3 separate regions of the Homo sapiens genome follow, and all the other regions are linked to region 1. The links are contacts of gene promoters, found by promoter capture Hi-C in blood cells and fetal thymus (Javierre and others, 2016). All regions are on one chromosome and are shown on one strand. The core of a region is centred on a gene start or on the middle of the fragment in contact, and the rest is flanking DNA. Distances in the headings are between cores, read along the strand shown.

Region 1 (3,962 bases), core at 518-3,017:
TCCACAAAGTATCTTTCCATGTCTAATGCATTCTTTTTGTTTATGGGGTTGTCTGAAAATTGCTTAATGATTTGTATGAGCCCTTGGTTCGATAAGAAAACTTATGTGTTAAAGTGTGTCCCGATTTTTTTCTCATATTATCTAACTTTTTATGAAATTTTGATGTGCTTAATTTTTTAATGGGATTAATTTACTAGTCTTTTCTTTTATGGGTCCTAAGAGTATTTACATGCGTTACTTCCCTCTCTCTTCACAAGGGCATAGGGAACATTTATTTGTTTGTTTGTTTATTTTTATTACTTTTTGAGACAGGATCTTGCTCTGCAGCCCAGGCTGGAGTGCAGTGGCGCGATCACGGTTCACTGCTGCCTCTGCCTCCCGGGTTGAAGCGATCCTCCCACCTCAGCCCCCCCAAGTAGCTGGGATTACAGCCCCGCGCCACCATGCCCGGCTAATTTTTGAATTTTTAGTAGAGACGGAGTCTCGCCATGCTGCTCAGGCTGGTCTCGAACTCCTAGGTTCAAGTGATCTCCTGCCTCAGCCTCCCAAAGTGCTGGGATTACAGGCGTGAGCCACCGGACCCCGCCAGGAACATTTATGATGTATCCCATTTCACCTTGGAGTAAACTGAAGCTCAAAGAATAATGAGTGAAACTGGGTTTAGATCTTGAGCTCCCTAATTCCCCATCCAGGTCTTCTTCACAGCCTGGCTGCCCTTCACATCTTCCAAAAAGGTCTTTCAAGTTGTCAATTTGTTTACACTACTCTTCCAAACATTTATATCGAAAGTTTAAAGGAAACAATAAGTACATAAAAAAGAAAGATAAGAAATAGACCTCAGTATTAACCTTTTCAAATATTTAGTTGGTGATAGCGCAGAAGAGGGGAAACCGAGGCTGTCCTTGCCATTCACGCTGTGAAGATGCGACCCTGGCTCACTCCCCGCAGCTCCAGGGCAGCTGGAAGCAGAGAACTCCCATATCTCTAATAAAGCCGGGCCTCTCGCAGATGTCAGCGCATTGCATTGACTCCTGGACACCTGCACTAAAGGCCCTTCAGGCACCTCCAACTAAATATGCCCAGAACTGAACTCACCCTATCTCTTCTCCATCTCAGGTAAGCTGCCAGGTGGCCAAGGCTGGGAGTCATGATGCTTTCTCCTTCTGAACATCCACAATCGGGGGCAGAGACCTTCACCTTCCATCTCCTAAACACTCTACGATGGGTCCTCTTCTCTTCACCCCCACTCCCCGCACCCCTGCCACACACCTCTCCCACCATTGCACGCGCCCAGTCTCCACGCGCATTTCCTCTCCCACCCTGCAGCAGCCGCCCTAGCATATTACCTCTAATGCAAATCGCACCACTGTCCCGCAGGCTGAAAGCCTCGGTGCACTCAGGACAAGAGTCCACGCTTCTTAAACAAACGGTCGACGTTGTCCGCGACCTGGCCCGGCCCAACGGGTCAGACCGTCATTGGCCATCTCACAGTCCCGGCGCTCCAGAGCCCCTCCCACAGCGGGACATGAAGGAGGCGGATACGGCTGGACCTTACCCGGCCCGCCCAAGGCGTCCGGGACCCGCCCAGGCGCTGACGCTAACTGGAGAGCCTGGCCCCGCGGTCTCCTTGTCCTGCCAATCTCCGGGAGGCGGGATCCGTCTGAGGGCCTGGACCAATTCGGGAGCGGGGGCGCGGAAAGAGGCGGGGCTACGAGCTCCTCCCAGAGCTCCAGCCTCCAGGCACCCGGGATCCAGCGCCGCCGCTCATAACACCCGCGACCCCGCAGCTAAGCGCAGCTCCCGACGCAATGGACCCGGCGCTGGCAGCCCAGATGAGCGAGGCTGTGGCCGAGAAGATGCTCCAGTACCGGCGGGACACAGCAGGCTGGAAGATTTGCCGGGAAGGCGTGAGTGAGGAGCTGGGCGGGAAGGGGTCGCGGAGACGGCTTCGTGGAGCCCGGGTCCCCAGAAGCCCCCAAGCGCCTCCTCTCCCCGTTGTTTTCTGCTCCCCAATCCCCTGGACCCGATTGAGAGGGATTCCAATGGGGATTGTTTTCTTCTTTAAAAAAAAGATTGGGCCTGTTATGCTCACAATGACTTCAGGTGGTAAGTATCTGTTCCTTTCACTCAGTGACTTGCCCAAGGTCACCTGGCTGTTGAATGCTGTTTAGGACTGGATGTTTCTGTGACAGTGGTAAAAGTAAATAAATTGCATTTAAGGGGTAAGCAGGTGTTTAAAAACAAAACAAAATGAAAGAATGTGGTCGCAGCTAAGGAGGTTTTTACATGTTGTTTAAATCCAGTAAAGTCTGATCCAGCATCTGATGCATACTAAGGTTTTCTTCTGTGTTCATTACAGCATGAACCCCTCTCTTTGTCGTTGCCAGAGGGTAGCATGGGAGTAGTTTTGCTTGACCCTTCTGACTTTTCATTACAGCATGAACCCCTCTCTTTGTCGTTGCCAGAGGGTAACATGGGAGTAGTTTTGCTTGACCCTTCTGACTTTTCATTACAGCATGAACCCCTCTCTTTGTCGTTGCCAGAGGGTAGCATGGGAGTAGTTTTGCTTGACCCTTCTGACTTTTCATTACAGCATGAACCCCTCTCTTTGTCGTTGCCAGAGGGTAGCATGGGAGTAGTTTTGCTTGACCCTTCTGACTTTTCATTAAGTAGCCCTGGGTTGCTCAAGGAAACAGAATGCCTGGTGGCTTTTAAGATAATTTTAAAAACCACCCACGGCTCTTGGAGTCAGCCAGTTAAGATCTTTTTCTTCATCACATTCTGCTGTGGGGACAGCTTTGCCCAAGACTAGTCCCAGCTTTTCCACGTATGGGTTGCACAGCCTTGGAGAGTCGTATCTCTTGAGGCCTCTTACCCCTCTTCTGTAGAACAGGGGATTAAGCCAGGTGACCAGAGCCCTTCTAGCTCTAAAATTCTGTGGTTCTGTGCCTTTTGACAGAATGGAGTTTCAGTTTCCTGGAGGCCATCTGTGGAGTTTCCAGGGAACCTGTAAGTGCATGCCTCGTTCAAAGATTACCAGAGGTGCCGCACCCTTCCTGGTATCTTTATGGGCCTGCCTCCTAAAATATTCAAATCAACCCTATAACCTGTGATCACTTGTCCTCCAGAAAAGCCTTACTGTTTTTAATGAAATCATTTCCAGCAAACTGTATTCTTGTGAAAGCTTACTGTCCATTTCTGCAGGCCTGAAGGGAGGCGGGGCTAGTGACTTTCAGCCCCTTCTCTGCAAGTCTGTCCTAAAGAGTAGTGACAGACATGGCATGGTCCACCTTCTAGTCCTTAGATACAATCTCAAGATAACAAGTTTGATTGATGCGTTGGGGTCAAATTCCTTTTCGTGCTCCAGGTACCGAGGAGAAGGCATTGTATATGGGACACTAGAGGAGGTGTGGGACTGTGTGAAGCCAGCTGTTGGAGGCCTACGAGTGAAGTGGGATGAGAATGTGACCGGTTTTGAAATTATCCAAAGCATCACTGACGTAAGTCTTTCCAAGCATGTTATCTCTAGATAGTGTCTGGGCCAGGCTATAGTAACCCCCTCCCATTTCTTCTGGAAGGGGTCCGTGATACCTTTTGTTAAGGGGGTGTGTCCTGCAAGCACAGGCTGCCCACTGCTTGCAGCATTGGAGGCCTGCCTCAGCCCAGTTTCCCGGTGGGAAACCTCATGACTCAGAGAGGGAGAGAAGCCCCAAACAGAGTCTCTGCGGGGAGCATACCTGTTCCTTGTGTGGGGCTGCTGCACTAGGCAACACAGGATCCTCAGCCCCTGGCACCCACTTCCCTGAAGCCTGGGCCAGTAGCAGCTCCACGTACCTGCATGACCCCAGTTACCCTCTGGTATGAGGGTCTTCACGCTTTTTGCTTACATGCATCCAACAGATTTTTGAGAAATTATGCATCATCCTCACACATCCAGTTGATGTCTATTAATAACATTTAGT
Region 2 (3,962 bases), core at 387-2,886, 360 kb after region 1:
CTCAGGCAGGCAGACTCCAAAACTGACACCAGCCACTGTAATCTGCTTGGGAGAGGGGCTGCTCCCCTTCTCTGGACCTCTTCTCAGACCCATGTGCCAAGTGTTGATACAAGCACTCCCCATGTAAGTGCTGAACACCAATAAGTTTCGGGAAGTGTGCAGGCAGTGGAGATAAAGATAGCAAGGCAGGCAAGGTCCCTGCCTTCTTGGTATTTACAGGTTGAATATTAAAAGACACACAATGTCTTTCAGCATGGAGTGTGCCTACTGTGTGCAAGCTCTGGACATCCTTACCTAACTGTGACATGCTACCCACTGTGTGCAGGTCTTTACATACTTTATTTCATTTACTCTCATTTTATTTTCAGTTAGGGTCTCACTCTGTTGCTCACGCTGGAGTGCACTGGCACGATGGCAGCTCACTGCAGCCTCGACCTCCAGGCTCAAGTGGTCCTCCCACCTCAATCTCCTGGGTAGCTGGGACCACAGGTGTGCACCATCACACCCAGCTAATTTTTTAATATTTTTTGTAGAGACAGGGTCTCCCTATGTTGCCCTGGCTGGTCTTGAACTCCTGGGTTCAAGCAATCCTCCCACCTTGACCTCCCAAAGTGTTGGGATTACAGGTGTGAACCACTGTGCCCGACCTCATTTACCCTTCACAACCCCACAAGGTTGGTATTAGTTAACATTTACTATGTGGCCCTTTGAAGCACAGTTCTGGTGTTGGACTTCCCAGCTCTGCATTTTATTAGCTGTATCATGTTGGACAAGTTATTTAAGGACCTCACTCATCTAAGCCTGTAGGTGCTAATAAAAGTTCCCATTTCAGAGAAGTATTATAAGGATTAAATGAGCAAGTCCCTGTGAAGCACTTAACACAGCTTTCTTTTTTATTTTATTTTTAAAGTAAAGAGGTGGGGTCTCACTATTTTACCTTGGCTGGTCTTAAACTCCTGAGCTCAAGCGATCCTCCCACCTTGGCCTTCCAAAGGAGTACAGGTGTGAGCCACTGTGCCTGGCCAACAGAGCTTTCAGTACATGTTAACTATTATCATTTGTGTGTGTGTTTTGTGCTTCAGGTGACTAGACAGAAGCTTGTAGGGGTTAAGCCCCTTGCTGAGAGTCACAGCTAGGAGAAGGCAGGATAACATCCTGCCTGGGCTGTTTTCTTCTGGAGGCACTGCAGTTTTCACTGTGGCTTGACACTCTAAGGGAGGGGCTGGGATGGAATTCTACATGGGCCACAGAGATTGCTCCAGAAGGAGAATGGCCACCTTGCCCAGTGTAGGGTATGCCAGAGCAGAGCGGGTCAGCTTCCTTCCAGGCAGAAACATCTGCCGTTCCCACCACCTTGGTGCTCTGCTCTCAGATACCTGCATGGCTGAGGACCTGCTCTCAGGTGAGATGGTTTGCCCTGAAAGGGGCAGAGCTGCCAGAGTCCAAGCGGTCTGCAGGAGACTGCAGTTTGACCATGCTGCTTGCTGGTACAAGGAAATTTTTGGTAGGCAGATTTCAGGAGGTCCCACGCAAGTGTCACAAGCCAGAAACTTGAGATGTTGGACCCCTTTCCACTTGATCCAGCATCTGGGAAAACCTGAGCCTGCAGTTGGGGCCACTTGGCCAACTCTCCATAGATCTTGTTGAATCAGCTTAAACCTGGGCTTGTCAAATTCTGGATCTCAGCAGCCCAACTTGCAATTTTAAATCTTTGACCACTGTTCCCTGGCAGACCTAGGGCAATTTTTGTTTTCTCCAGAGAAGTCTGCCGAAGTTTCTGAGGTGAAGTTTCCAAGCTGATGAATTGGAAGCCCAGACTTGGCAGCTCTCAGCCAAGGAGGGCTGCAGTTGGTGGAATGTGAAGAATGCCCAGGGACATCTGGTCTGCCTTGCATCTGTTTTTCAGGCCAGCCCGCATTCTTCCTGCAGGAGAGAGCTTCAGCCATAGGCCTAGAAACACTGGGGCCCCTTTGATCCATGCCTCCTACCTCAGCTCCAAGTTGGACGACATTGAGTGCCATACTTGCTTTCCCTGGGCCTTACCTCTTCTATAAACAGGGTGGCAAGTCCTGCCAGGCCTGGGATTTACATGCCAGGGTCTGGAAGAAACAAGACAATAGGGATCCTTATTCTAATGCAAAGGAGGTCCCTGACTCCCTTAGGATAGAAGCTTCCTTACAAATTCTCTGAGGTCCTTGCTCTAAATTAAAACTCCCTGAGGGCTCCTACTTCTTTTCTTTTCTTTTTTCTTTTTCTTTTTTTGAGATGGAGTTTCACTCTTGTTGCCCAGGCTGGAGTGCAATGGTGTGATCTCGGTTCACCACAACCTCCACCTCCCGGGTTCAAGTGATTCTCCTGCCTCAGCCTCCCAAGTAGCTGGGATTACAAGCATGCACCACCATGCCCAGCTAATTTTGTATTTTTAGTAGAGGCGGGGGTTTCTTCATGTTGGTCAGGCTGGTCTCGAACTCCTGACCTCAGGTGATCTGCTCACCTAAGCCTCCCAAGTGCTAGGATTACAGGAGTGAGCCACTGCGCCCGGCCAAGGGCTTCTACTTCTAGTTTTAAAATCAATGCCTTGAGCGCATCACCTCGATGGGCCTCAGTTGGAATGGGCCAGCATTTCCCAGAGGAATTTAACCAGCGGAACTGCCCAATAAGGAGGAGTTGGCCACTTCAAGCCAGTTATTTGGGCTTTTGAGATGCAGAATCAGGAGGAAGAGAAGAGGTGCAAAGGTTGTGGAGCAGAGAGGCAGCAGGGTATGGAAGAAGAGGGCCTGAATCAAATACACACACCCACAGTGTACAGTGGCAACTATGCAAGGTGCTTGTAGCTTGCAACAGAGGGATTTTCCAAGGGAGGCCAGAGAAAAGCTTCCTGGAGCAGGTGGCCACTAAGCTGAGATTTGAGCAGGCATGAGTGGACACAGAGGCAGCCTGGAAGCTGGGGGCAGTGGCACAGCAGGAGGGGTGGAAGCTTGGTTTGTGTGTGTGTGCACATGTGTGTGTGAACACACCTCTAATATGGGGAGCACTGGGCCCGTTGAGCTCTCAGGTCTCTCTGTCTGTAATACTCTGTGACTTTCAGAAACCAAAGGGCCTCTGCCACTGGCTCTGCAAATGAGTAGTTTGTTATTACAAACCCTTTGTAAATATTATTTTGATGAGGTATAATAGTTCATCAAATGAGGCCATAATTTATTTGGTCATTTCTGTGTAGATGAACATTTAGGTTATTTGAACCTGTCAAGTCATTATAAATAATGCTACAATGAGCATCTTCATACCCATGCTCTATTTCATTAGGCTAAATCCCCAGATATGTATGTAATTAGTAGGTCCAAAAAAAAAAATGATGATGATTCTTTTAAAGTTCTTGATTGGTTATGCTAAGTATTTTCTAAAATGGTTATTTCTAACTTTCAAAAACTTTATCATGGAAATATCTTAAATGTACACACAAAAAATAGAGTGGGTCACCATTCCTTGTCACCCAGTTCTAATAATTATCAACATTTTAATAATCATTTTTAATCTTTATTTTGGGGAGGAGGCTATACCTCAATTTAGCCAATTTGTTTTTTCTTTTCTTTTTTTTTATTATTATACTTTAAGTTCTAGGGTACATGTGCACAACGTGCAGGTTTGTTACATAGGTATACACGTTCCATGTTGGTTTGCTGCACCCATCAACTCATCATTTACATTAGGTATTTCTCCTATTGCTATCCTTCCCCCAGTCCCCTACCCCACAATAGGCCCTGGTGTGTGATGCTCCCCTCCCTGTGTCCATGTGTTCTCATTATTCAGCTCCCATTTATGAGTGAGAACATGCAGTGTTTGGCTTTCTGTCCTTGTGATATTTTGCTGAGAATGATGGTTTCCAGCTTCATCCATGTCCCTGCAAATAACATGAACTCATCCTTTTTTATGGCTGCATAGTATTCCATGGTGTGTATGTG
Region 3 (3,962 bases), core at 855-3,354, 300 kb after region 1:
TGTCCATACTTACTTGCCCAAATCATTCAGGGTTGGCCTTATGGGCACGTGCCCCTTGAAAGGAGCTGGAGAGGAAAAAAATGTTCTGAACTGTTTTCATTCATGCTTAGGCTGGGAACACATGCTGGTCACCATTGAATACAAAACCTCCTCTGGCTCCCAGACGTAGATCACTCAAACACCCAACCTGATCTTGAACTTCAAAATGCAAAAAAAGTAAACTCGGCAGGGAGAAAACTGCCCACTGACTACCAAAGATGACACAGCATGAATATTTCCTCCAGCTACACAATGGAGAAGCTGAGTAATATGCAGAATTCACTAAATGACGGGGACTAAGATCACAGGGGTTTTAAGGTCAGCTGAAACTCGATTGCCGTAGTTTTCCTTCCTCTTGGGTAAAAGCTTCTCTGAGCAAACCACATTTTTTCAGAGAATCAAGGCTAGAGTCCCTGGTGAGGCAGTTCGTTCCTGGCCTTCTGTCCTGGGCCACGTGCTTCTCAGCCCTTCCCTGTTGGGCTGCGGGAGGGTTCAAGATGGAATGAGGTAATGCTGGCAGGACAGCTGCCCAGGGAGCGAACGAAACTCTGCCCTGGTTGCAGCCTAAGCAGGACAGGAAGCAAATTAGCAGAAGCAAGCAGTAATTTGACTGCCAACAATAGGAGTCAAAACTGCATTTCTGACCCTGCACCGTTGATCCTCCTCACAACAATAGTCATCCACAAGCCATAAAAAGGCCGATGAAACACTATTTGAGATTGCAAATGCTGGAGTCAAAAGAGTCCTGGGTCCAAATTCTGGCTCTGCCACCCATCCGCTGTACGACCTCGGACAACTTGCCTAAGGTCTGTTAGACTCTGATTCTTAAATGTGCATATTTCATCAAGGTACTGTATGAAATGAGGATGTATGTAAAGTGTGTAGTACATAGCAAGAGCCCAATAAATAGACAGTATGTTCTATGGGCTTTTGTGAACCCCTGCCATCTTGAGTTTATTAACCCTCCATGCGTAAAAACTCCCTCACATTTTTTGCTTCCTTACGTTCTTTTTTTTTTTTTTGAGATGGAGTTTTGCTCTTGTTGCCCAGGCTGGAGTGTAATGGCGCAATCTTGGCTCACTGCAACCTCCGCCTCTGGGGTTCAGGCGATTCTCCTGCCTCAGCCTCCCAAGTACCTTAGATTACAGGTGCCTGCCACCATACCCGGCTAATTTTTTGTATTTTTTAGTAGAGACGGGGTTTCACCATGTTGGCCAGGCTGGTCTCAAACTCCTGACCTCAGGTAATCCACCCGCCTTGGCCTCCCAGAGTGCTGGGATTACAGGTGTGAGCCAACGCGCCTAGGGTTATCATGAGGATTAAATGAGTTAATGTATACAGTCAGCCCTCTGTATCTGTGGGCTCCATATCTGTGGGTTCAACGAACTGCAGACAGAAAATATTTGAAAGAAAAAATGATGTCTGGGCTGGGTGTGGTGGCTCATACCTGTAATCCCAGCACTATTGGAGGCCAAGGCAGGTGGATCGCTTGAGGTCAGGAGTTCAAGACCAGCCTGGGCAACATGGTGAAACCCCGTCTCCATTAAAAATACAAAAATTAGCTGGGCATGATGGTGCATGCCTGTAGTCCTAGCTACTCAGGAGGCTGAAGCAGGAGAATCCCTTGAACCCAGGAGGTAGAGGTTGCAGTGAGCCAAGATCCACCACTGCACTCCAGCCTGGGCAACAGAGTGAGACTCTTTAAAAAAAAAAAAAAAAAAGAAAGAAAGAAAGAAAAGAAAAGAAAAGAAAAAATGATGTCTGATGTCTGAACTGAACAAGTAGAGACTTTTTTATATTGTCATTATTCCCTAAACAACACGGTATAACAATTATTTACATAACATCTACATTGTAGTAGGTATTATAAGTAATCTAGATATGATTTAAAGTATACAGGGCTGGGTGCAGTGGCTCACGCCTATAATCCCAGCACTTCTGTAGTCCAAGGCAGGCAGAAGGCTTGAGCCCACAAGTTCAAGACCAGCCTGGGCAACATGGTGAAACCCATCTCTACAAAAAAAATAGAAGCTAATCTGTGAAGATGAAGACTATATGTATGAGTCATTCACATGCTGGTGGTAAATTATCAATCTGCAAAATTAATCTGCAATATATAAAAATTAGCCCCATGTGGTAGCCTGCACCTGTAGTTCCAGCTACTCAGAAGGATGAAGTGGGAGGATCACCTGAGACCCTAGAGGTCGAGACTACAGTGAGCCATGATCGTGCCACTACACTCCAGCTTGGGTGATGGAATAAGACTCCATCTCAAAATGATAATAATAAAGTATACAGGAGGATGTGCACAGATTATATGCAAATACAACACCATTTTACATCAGGGAGTTGAGCATCCAGGGATGTTAGTATCCAAGGGGGTCCTGGAATCAATCCCCCACAGATACAAAGGAACAATTCTAAGTGCTTGGAAATGCACCTAGAACATAGAAAGTATCATGTAGGTGTCAGTTATTATTAGGAAAGCCTGGGGCAAAGGATACGAAATTACAAGGAAGATGATGCTGAAGACAAATTCTCCCATTTCCCAACTCAGGGGCCTGGCTAGAGTCACTGTTTCTCTCTGCAAACTGGCCATTTCCATTTCCACCGTCTTTTGCTGCCAACACGGAGAAGAGCTTCTGTGCTACAGCCGAGCCACATTTTGGTGCACGAAGATGTGCGGGTTGCCTGAGGATTCTAAGCAGCAGTTCTAGTACGTTTTCCACAGGCAAAATGCACTTGAGGCTCCAAACTACCAGCTTTGATCAACTGTTATGTGAGGTAAGGCCTTATCTGGTTCATCCTAAAGCATCCTAATGAAAACAGAAAACTGTAAGGGGAAACAGATGCAAGTTTGTGGCAGAGGGAAAAATGCACTGGAGTCTTGGGAAAGATGGGGAGGGAGGGCTATTCCTTTTTAAACACAGCATCTAAGATTAAAGTGCTTGTTATTACAATTATCCTCCAAAGAAATCCCATAAAATCCCCTCATTAGACTTTGACCCCAGACTTTAGACTCAAAAAATGAGAATTTGCTTTTTTTTTCAGTAGGGATCGTACCACGTAAAATATAGTATAAAAATAAAATAATAAAAAAGTCAAAAAATAAAAATAAAGGGAAAAATTTTAAATAAATTTAAAAAGGAAAAAAGAGAAAGAAAGTAACTAAATTTTTTTTAAAAAGAATTCACTTTTTTTGCTTTTCTTTGCAATTCTGGCGATGAGCTGACTTTCCCTGCGGCAACACCCACAAAGCAGTTCATGTCTCCTCTTTGAGCTTCAAGGGCACCATTTTTAAAATGGGGTTAAAAACACTTACCAAATGAAATATTGTATGGAATGGGTTTGGAGGTACCTCAAGCATAGCTGGTGATTATTGTTAGCATTAATATTTACTTCCAATGCCAAAAAACTGCCCCTCATTTTAAACTCCTTCTCTTAAGAGCTTTCTCTCAGCTCCTCCTTGCCTATAAGCCCAGACCCTGCTCTTTCATTACTAATTTGGTTTGCACAAAGATGTCATCCTAGAGTCCCATGGCAGAAATGGACCCTGGGCCACCCCACTGCCTTCCAACAAGTCCCTAAAGAGCCCGTCCCAGATTGCTAGAAATAATTAGACACCTAAAAAAGGAAAGTACACAGTCATGCTGATTCATACCCTTCAACTATTTAGGGGGCACAGAATGGCCCCACTACAAATGACCTAGTCTAATGCCCTCATTTAAAGACAAGGAAACTGAGGCCTAGAGAGGGAAGCTTGTTCAAGGTCATGCAGGGAGGTAGAGTTGAGCCCCAACTAGAGCTCTTAGCCATTGACTGCCAGAGAGCACTGACTCATTGTTCCAGGAGTTTGTGTACCATAGACAGGATGGTTTTGGGAAAATCACTTGAAGAAACATTAGGTCTCTTTCTCCTTGGGA

The links. Contacts are between HindIII fragments. The CHiCAGO score rates a contact against its expected background, and 5 or more counts as called.
Region 2: a fragment that was not itself captured here is called in contact with the fragment with the promoter of STARD5 in region 1 in 1 of 17 cell types (neutrophils); the score reaches 5.6 in neutrophils.
Region 3: a contact is called between a fragment that was not itself captured here and the fragment with the promoter of STARD5 in region 1, in 3 of 17 cell types (M2 macrophages, monocytes and M1 macrophages). The highest score is 7.3, in M2 macrophages.

What each region holds. Positions count from the first base shown.
Region 1 is chr15:81,321,946-81,325,907 of GRCh38, reverse strand. It overlaps STARD5 (StAR related lipid transfer domain containing 5), which reads left to right and starts at 1,767. Exons shown (of 6, transcript NM_181900.3): 1 at 1,767-1,907; 2 at 2,960-3,009; 3 at 3,368-3,500. The coding sequence starts at 1,809. It overlaps TMC3-AS1 (TMC3 antisense RNA 1), which reads right to left and starts at 1,575. Exons shown (of 7, transcript NR_120365.1): 1 at 1,347-1,575. RefSeq lists a silencer at 1,226-1,275. The HindIII fragment of the contact is 9,334 bases long and covers 1-3,186 here.
Region 2 is chr15:80,965,593-80,969,554 of GRCh38, reverse strand. It overlaps a transcript of MESD not described here. Among named protein-coding and RNA genes, the nearest start is that of MESD, 22 kb to the left of the region's middle. RefSeq lists an enhancer at 2,438-2,953. The HindIII fragment of the contact is 1,073 bases long and covers 1,100-2,172 here.
Region 3 is chr15:81,020,241-81,024,202 of GRCh38, reverse strand. No RefSeq gene overlaps it. Among named protein-coding and RNA genes, the nearest start is that of TLNRD1, 21 kb to the right of the region's middle. RefSeq lists an enhancer at 704-853. The HindIII fragment of the contact is 3,393 bases long and covers 408-3,800 here.